Linked DNA regions of Homo sapiens: region 2 is linked to region 1. The links are contacts of gene promoters, found by promoter capture Hi-C in human tissues and cell types (Jung and others, 2019). All regions are on one chromosome and are shown on one strand. Each heading gives the region's core, a stretch centred on a gene start or on the middle of the fragment in contact. The rest is flanking DNA. Distances are from core to core; before and after follow the strand shown.

Region 1 (4,428 bases), core at 830-3,329:
AAAAGAAAAACAAAACAAAACAAACAAACAAAAAAACTCTTGTATATAAAGGTTCATTTCCATTTCCCTTTCCCTTGCTAGGCCAGGCCCTTCTCCATTAGGGAACCTCAGGGTTGGAGGGCCCTATCTCTGGCACCCTCACTACCTGTTTAGCCTTTACTAGGACAATTCCAGGATGGATGGCGCACCATTAAGCTGAGTTCCTTGAGGACAGGGACGATGTCCTGTTTACTTTGGGTTCACCAGCACATAACACAGTGCCTGACCTTAAGGAGTTGTTATTTTTATTTTTTAAGAGAAAGGGTCTTGCTCTGTTGCCCAGGCTGGAGTGAAGTGGTACAGTCATAGTTCATTGCAGCCTCAACCTCCTGGGCTCAAGCAACTAGCTTGAACTACATGTGTGTGCCACCACACCCAGCTAATTTTTAGTTTTTGTTTTTTTGTAGAGATAGGGGGAGGAAGGGTCTCGTTATTTTGCCCAGGCTGGTCTCAAACTCCTGGCCTCAAGTGATCCTTAAGGAGGTATTTTAAAAACTGTTTTCGAAATAATGCCTCCTGAGGTAGCCTGTTTTATTGTTAATACCCATTAGATGGCTTCCCTGTAGGCACAAGCTTAGAAACTTTCCCAGGAAGACCCACAGTTCCCACTGTCTTCAGTTCAGGTTCCTCAAATTGACAAGATCTTCCATTACCTCTCCAAACTTACTATCCATGCTTTTCTTTCATTGTTTCCCCCCACCCCTTTTTTTAACCTTCCTCATTTGCTACCTGGCCTGAGAATTTACCTCCCACTCTGCCCTCCACTTGTCCTTATTCCTATTACTCTTCTTGCTGAATAGTCCATTTGGGACTTCCTTAGTCCAGCCTTAGTCATATCTTCCTCTGAAGCCTTCCCTGACTACCACCAAGGGTCACTGACACTCCTTTGAATGCCAGAAGGATTAGTTGTAAACCTTTCACGTTGACAGTAACTAGCTTGCTTTCATGAGCTTAACTGTTTCATGAGTTTACAACTTGTCTCAATTTGATTTTAAACTACAGAGGCTTTATGTGCTAAGAATGCCACAGGTTTACATTCCATTTGTGTTGAAGCTATAGTAGCCTTTATTTGATATTTGTTTTAATTTCATGACATGAAATTAAATTTTCAGGGACATGCAACGGGTTCGGCCCATTCCCTTCACTTAACATTACTGAGCTGGGCAGTAAGCTCAGAGTTGCAGATATAAAGATGAATAGACAGATACCTACCCAGGAGCTTACTCTAGAAGAGGACAGATGGATAAGCTACATTTTATAGCAGAATTTGGCAAAGTGTACTGAAGCTATAAACAGCTATGATGGTAAATAAGGTAAGAATTATGCTTAGTGAGGTCAGGGAAGGCTTCTAGAGCTAACATCTGAACTGGGACTTCTATTGGCAAGGCAGAAAATCAGGAAAACGCACTTATTCCTGGCAGAGGAAGCCTCTTGATCAAAAATCTTAAGAGATGAAAAAGGACCGGTTGTTAGGAAACAGATGATGGTGCCCAGAGCGCAAGATGAGGGGGAGTGTTGGGAGATGGAGCTAAAAGATACACTGGTGCCAAAGACTGAAGAGCCTCCTGTAGATAGCGCAGGGCGCAGCGCTGAAGGGAAAGAAAAAGTTGGGATTGTTCAATAAAGTTGGTGACTGATTCAGTCGGATTAATTCCGCCCTGGTGGTCTTGTGGGAATGAAGATAACTAGCAGGATAGTCTAAGAAGCCCTGTGGAAGCAGAGTCATGAGCTGTGAATGGGGACGTGGCGGCCACACGGCCGCGCCCACGCCACCCGCAGTACGGGGCTGGGGCTGGGGCTGGGGCTGGAGCCCGCCGTCCCAACAATCCCGGGGACGAGAGTTGGGCGGGAATCCGCTCCACGCAACTCGGCGCGGTCCCGGGGACGTGGCGCTTTCCAGCCAATCCCGGCTATGCGATTGTTAGACCAATGGCTACTCGGGGACGCTATGCGACAGCGGCGGGTTTGCTGATGATTGGTCGGGAGGCCGCCGGCGAGGCGGATGAGGGCGGGGTGCGGACCCGCTTCCGGTTGGGCGGTGCTTGCGCGCGTGAGCTGAGCCGGTGGGTGAGCGGCGGCCACGGCATCCTGTGCTGTGGGGGCTACGAGGAAAGGTAAGTACGGTGATGCCCAGCCCCTTCACCACTGCCTCATCTTTATTCGCTTTCTTTCTGTCCCCGGTCTTGTTCTTGGCGCGGCAGGGGACTGCCTCACTCGGTGCCGCTGTCTCTGCTGGCGCCCGGGTCCCAGGCCTGATGCTGCTGGAGATCCCGGGACCCTCTGTGTGCAGCCTGGGATGGAGGCCGCCGCCCGTCTTACCGCGCGCTCTGGGAAGGGGGCTGGTCCGGTGGAACTCTGTCCCGTTGGGTACTGTTCTGTGCCTGGTTTGCTGCGTCCTGGTCCTCCATCTCTAGGTCACGCCACTCACCGAGTCTCTGGCACCAGAGGGTCATTTTTTGCCTCCGGAAGGTCGGAGGGCATTTGGATAGTGTTATTGTAAGAGTTCCTTGCCGCCTCCACTCACCATCCTGCTTGTATCTGCCAGCTCCGCCCCAAGGCCACATCCCGACAGTAGGGTGCATCTGCCAAGGTCGTGTTCACTCACCTAAAGGGTGCAGAAACAAGGGGGGAGAGAACGAGTGACGACACTAGGTGATATCTATGATTTTAAAGAAAAGCTGAATGTTTAGAGCTTCCATATTTGGCTACGTACTTCAGTTAGCGACGGAAAATAGTTTTTAAAGCTTTATTGGGGAATTAATTTTTGTTACGTTTTTTGTTGCTTCTAGCCCCATATCCTACTGATTTTTAGCATGCTGCGGTCAGAAATAAACTTAATTCCCTATAGCTGCCGCGATTAAGCGTAGAGTGGCTTGCAGTTTCAAAAGCTGCTTTTGCATCAAGGCCCAAGCTCCGTGGGTCTCCTGCTAAAACTTTTGAGCCTGTGATCTGAATTCCTAAGTGTATAAAATTCTAGAATAGTGTCTTCGAGAATTGAGTTGCGTTCATTTTCTGGTGTGGACCATGAAGTCAACGTTAATGAATTGGGAATAAGGTGGCTTCTAGTTGTTTTTTGTTCTAGTAGCTTATTCAGCTTGGAGGCAGAGAACCTTGGAATCTCTGTTAAATTAGTCTGCCATAGAATGGAACTTGACACAAGACAAATGCAAGTTTGACCTCACTCAGTAGATTTAATTAACCAAATACCAAACGACAGTAATCACTGAAGAATTTATATAGTATAATCCAAATGAGGGACCAGATATAACCTCTAAGTTGTATTTGTCAAGAAAATGAGTTTGCCAAGACCTAATCTGAGGTTTTACTGTGATTGGGGGGTGGGGGGGTTCCAATAGGATTCTTTTGAGAATCACAAGTAGGAAAGCCATGAGCTCACAAAAATGTATTGAGTATGCCTGAGTGAATAGTACTCAATATAGCTTTGAAACCAACTCATTGTCACTCTCAATGTAATCATTGTTTGTTTTCATTCATCCAGTGATGTGTCAAGAAGTACTTATTGATAGCACTTAATATCCATTAGAGCAGTATTGGGATCTATATATTGGTGTTATTTTTTAAAATTTATTTATTTTAGAGTTGAGGGTCTCAGTATGTTGACCAGGTGGAGCCTTGAACTCCCATGCTCAAGCAGTCCTCCTGCCTCAGCCTCCCAAGTAGCTGAGACTAGAGGTATATAACACCACACCCTAGTACATTGGTGTTAACACAGATTTTCTGTAACGTAGGTATACCAGGGATATTGAAAGGACAGAGGTGTAGCCAAGGATAGCCACTGGAAATGCTAGCTAGGCCACAAGGCCCTAGATTCTCACTCTCTGAACTCTTAAGTATGGATGTTGCTGATGCAGTAATTTATGTATTAGAGTTAAGACAGCTGAAATAACACTTTTGCCTGTTCCTGGCTGATTGCCAGATCCAGTAAACGGAATTGGAAGTTGGAGAACACAGGCAGGCAGGAACCACATTGCTGCCAAGTACCGCCCAATTAATTCAGTAAGATGTATTAATCCAGTAAAATGTATTGGTATCAAAAAAGTGCAAGACAATGTATTAGGGACAATATAGGGGTAATAATTTGTATTAGAATGATATGTAGACATTCTTCCAGAAATGTCGATTCTAAAGGGGAGCTAAGGAGACAACTTAAGGTAACCTATGGTCATTGTTTTTGAGTGGTTCAGACGAGTTTTATAGAAGTTTAGATTGGATCATACCCTTTTTGTCCAAAAAGAGAAAAAGATAACAGATCACTTCCAGCTAGAGTGATCATAGTAGGTAGGTCTTCTAGGATCTTAAATTTATTTATAGACATCTGGCACTGAAGGAAGTTTGAGCTAAAATAACTACCAAATTCTCAACAGTGTC
Region 2 (4,428 bases), core at 696-3,195, 560 kb after region 1:
CAAACATCAGGGGAAGAAAGACAAAATTATTTTCTGGTGTTATGTTGGCATTCATTGGATTTAAATATTTTGGGGCCAGGTATGGTGGCTCACGCCTATAATCGCAGCACTTTGGGAGACTGAGGTGGGAGGATCACTCAAGCTGAGGGGTTCAAGACCAGCCTGGGCAACATACTGAGACCCCATCTCTACTTAAAAAAATTAAAAAATTAGTTGGGCATGTAACACATGCCTGTAGTCCAGCTACTTGGGAGGCTGACGTAGGAGGATCCCTTCAGCCCAGGAGTTCAAGGCTACAGTGAGCTATGATCATGTCACTGTACTCTATCCTGGTTGACAGAGTGAGACCCTGTCTCTAAAAAATAAAAATAAATAAGAAATTTTGGCTTCCTAGAATGGTCCATGCAGTTGATAGAGAGTAAATGCCTGGTTTATTAAAATGGAAAGGTTAGGATGCTTATACCTATTTTTCACATAATCTGGAAGGTAAATTAAGTAAAAATTTCAGGACATTCTGATACTAGGTAGTTTAAAACAATACTCAAATGGTTTCTGAAAATAGCCTTATAAAGGAGAATTAAACTAAATTGGCTCAGTTGGAGTCCTTACCCTTGCTTGGTGAGTTAGAGTTTTCGGAAGCTTAAAGTTTATATTCTTTTTGAGATTTAATATATGTCAACCTTTCTGAAGTGGGTAGCCAACTTGTGAAGACTGTGTGTACACATGCACACTGATCTATTGTAGCCTTGGCACATTGTGTGACTTTAAGTAGGGTGATTGGGGATGTGAAAGGTAAAAGGATTGTAGAGAGGTGGCTGCTCCAAAGAGGAGGAATTTCTGAAAACATCACTGTTTATTCCAATTACAAATTTTTTGTAGTGCTATGTCCCCTGGTTAATGATGGTGTCAGTGGTTGCCTGTGAGTCCTTTGCACTCTAGTATGCTTTGCTTTGAAGTAAACTTCATCTTAGGACCGGGCTGAGTTGTGCATACTGCTGAAATTAAAGGTACTGAAAAAGCATAGGGTAGACAGGCCCCAAGGGAGAAGCGACTGTTGGGAGCTTTGGAAAACTAGCGAACAGCTCCAGAGCACTGGTGCTTGGGGAGCAGAAGTGTCACATGTTGAGATAGGAAATTTAGAATGCCTTTGCTTGAGACCTAATTGGTCTCCTTCCTCCTATAGACTGCTAGAAATTTCTACGTAGCTCTGGACTACGGGTCCCGAAGTTGGAACCACCATTCTATTCCTGTCATTTGTAGTATGGAAAAGTAACTTTTTTCTTGTTTATAAAATGAGAAAAATTTTTGAGAAGAATTTTTTTTTAATGAGTGAAAGTATATGGTGTTTGATAGGGTAATTGAGAGCTGTAATCAAAATCATTACCTGGCTGGATGCAGTGGCTCATGCTTGTAATCCCAGCACTTTGGGAGGCCAAGGCATGGGAAGATCCTTTGAACCTGGGAGTTTGAGACCAGCCTGGACAACATAGGGAGAGCCAGTCTCTAAAAAAAATTAAAAATTAGCCCGACATGGTGGTGGACTAATCCACTAATAGTGTCAGCTACTCAGGAGTCTTAGGTGGGAGGATTGCTTGAGCTGGGGAGGTTGAGGCTGCAGTGAGCCATGATCCTGCCCCTGCATTCCAGCTTGGGTGACAGCGAGATCCTGTCTCCAAATAAACAAATCATTACCTGCTGAAATAGTCATTCCCAGTTTATATAATCAGATAGCTAGAGGGTAACTATAGACAAGAAAGCCTGTGGTTTAATTTGATAGGAAAGACTCTAACCTCATTGAGAGAAAACGATCAGAAAATATTCCTTTTCTAATGGCAAGAGAGGAAAAACTTATAAATTAGGTTCATATTATATAGGGAGTGGGGTATTCACCAGCCAGCCTATTTCTGATTCCTTAGTGAAATCTGATTTAGGAAATACAAGGTAGCCTGGTTTTATTGTTGAACAAGGGAAGGAGAAAATCACTTTGTCTTATCTAGTTAACTAAATATTTCAAGGTAAGGATATGAAGATAGTTTAAATTTCCGTTACAACTGGTATCAAATTTTGCTTCTCTGCTTTGATTAGAAACTGTCTCCACCTGCTGGCCGCAATTCACTTGGCATTTCATGAGGACACCTGGTTTTTTGTTTTGTTTTCTTGAAACATATAACAGCTATGGAAAGTACTTAGGCAGGGTTGTAGTGACTAAAATACCTCTATGTAGCTTTTCCTAAAATTCCCAGAAGGATTTTGGAGTTTTTTCCTAAACTTTGCTTGGGGGATAATGGAAAAGAAGCAACGTAAGGCCTTACAAGAACCAAACCAAAGCAGCACATTTGCAGTGTTTGTTTGATATTTGTCATTCTACCAAGTGATTTGTCTATTTTATGTATTATATTAAACTGTTTAAGCTTTGTTATTTATAATTAAGGTCATTATTTTCCAAATTGCTGTTAGTTTCACCTCTTTTGCCTGTTTGGAAATAATTATCACAATCATTACTGAATTATACAATAAAATAAAACTTTTCTTGGTCTAAAGGTAGGCAAGCTTTTTCTGTAAAGGCTCAGATGGTAAGTGTTTTAGGCTTTGCAGGCTATATGTTTTTTGTTGTAACTACTCAAACCTGTTATTGTAGCGAAAAAAAGTATATAGGCAATACATAAATGAATGAGTTCCAAAAATACTTAATGGAAACCAAAAATTTGAATTTGATACAATTTCCATGTGCCATGATATATTGTTCTTTTTTAAATTTTTTGACATTTTTGGGGGGAGAATCAGGGACAGACTGGAAATTTTTCAACCATTTAAAAATGTAGAAACTATGGGGCATGGTAGTCCATGTCTGTGATCCCATGGGAAGATCGCTTGAGGCTGGGAGTTTGAGAGCAGCCTGGGAACCATAGCAAGTCCCCTCCTCTACCAAAAAAAAAAAAACAAAAAACTATCCGGGCATAGTGGCTCACCTGTAGTTTCAACTATTCAGGAGGCTGAGGTGGGAGAGTCCAACTTGTTTTTTTTTTTTTTTTTTTTTTTTTTTTTTTTTTTTTTTTTTGAGATGGAGTCTCGCTCTGTCCCCCAGGCTGGAGTGCAGTGGCGCGATCTCGGCTCACTGCAAGCTCCGCCTCCCGGGTTCACGCCATTCTCCTGCCTCAGCCTCCCGAGTAGGTGGGACTACAGGCACCCGCCACCACGCCGTGCTAATTTTTTGTATTTTTAGTAGAGACAGGGTTTCACCATGTTAGCTAGGATGGTGTCGATCTCCTTACCTCGTGATCCACCCGCCTTGGCCTCCCAAAGTGCTGGGATTACAGGCATGAGCCATCACGCCCAGCCAGATTCCAACTTTTAGGAGTACTTCCGTAACAAAGAAAACTTGTCAGAGGGGTGTTGTACCTGTTCCATCTCATCACCAACCACATGGCATAGAAGTACAGAACTTTGTATATGTGGAAGATGATTCTTTACCCACACATGTAGGATCATGACCTGTTGTGGTTTGATTATATACCCACGGTTTAGATAATTTAAGTTCAAAACACTGAAATAATTTTTTAAAGGAGAAGACTCTTTTTAAAATTTTTGAGACCAGCCTGGAAATTTTATACATACAGGAGAAAACTTGAAAAATTTTTTTATTTATTTAAAATTTTTAATTTTCGTGGGTACATAGTAGGTGCATATATTTATGGAGTTTATGGAATATTTGATACAGGCATATGTTGCGCAATAATTACATCAAGGTAAATGAGGGTATCTATCAACTCAACCATTTATCATATTACAATCCTATTATACTCTTTTAGTTATTTTAAAATGTACAATTAAATTATTATTGACTATAGTTACCCTGTTGTGCTATCAGATACCAGATCTTATTCATTCTTCCTGGTTTTTTGTACCCATGAGCCATCCCCGCCTCCCCCCCAGCCTCCTCACTACCCTTCCCAACCTTTGGTAACCATCATTCTACTCTCTATCTCCATGAGTTCAATTCTTTTAATTTTTATCTCCCAGAAATAGGTGAGAATATGCAAAGTTTGTCTTTCTGTGCCTGGCTTATTTCACTTAACATAAGGATATCTACTTTGATTCATGTTGTTGCAAATGACAGGATCTCATTCTTTTTTATGGCTGAATAGTACTCCATTGCTTATATGTACCACATTTAAAAAAATCTATTCGTCTGTTGATGGACACTTAGGTTGCTTCCAAATACTGGCTGTTGTGAACAGTGCTACAACAAACATGGGAGTGCAGATATCTCTTCAATATACTGACTTCCTTTCTTTTGAATATATGTCCAACAGTGGGATTGCTGGATTATATGGTGGTTTTATTTTTAATTTTTTGAGGAGTCTCTAAATTGTTCTTCATAGTGTATGAGGGTTTCCTTTTCTCCATATCCTTGCCAGCATTTGTTAT

Evidence for each region. The method cuts DNA at HindIII sites, captures the fragments that hold promoters and counts their contacts. A contact is called where the count stands out against the background at its distance.
Region 2: a contact is called between a fragment that was not itself captured here and the fragment with the promoter of CALU in region 1, in 1 of the 25 tissues and cell types used here (hippocampus).

What each region holds. Positions count from the first base shown.
Region 1 is chr7:128,737,280-128,741,707 of GRCh38, forward strand. CALU (calumenin) reads left to right here and starts at 2,080. Exons shown (of 7, transcript NM_001219.5): 1 at 2,080-2,153. RefSeq lists silencers at 1,687-1,826, 1,897-2,036 and an enhancer at 2,317-2,416. The HindIII fragment of the contact is 3,801 bases long and covers 1-3,720 here.
Region 2 is chr7:129,296,354-129,300,781 of GRCh38, forward strand. All of the region lies in intron 1 of AHCYL2 (adenosylhomocysteinase like 2), which reads left to right. Among named protein-coding and RNA genes, the nearest start is that of AHCYL2, 74 kb to the left of the region's middle. The HindIII fragment of the contact is 3,657 bases long and covers 118-3,774 here.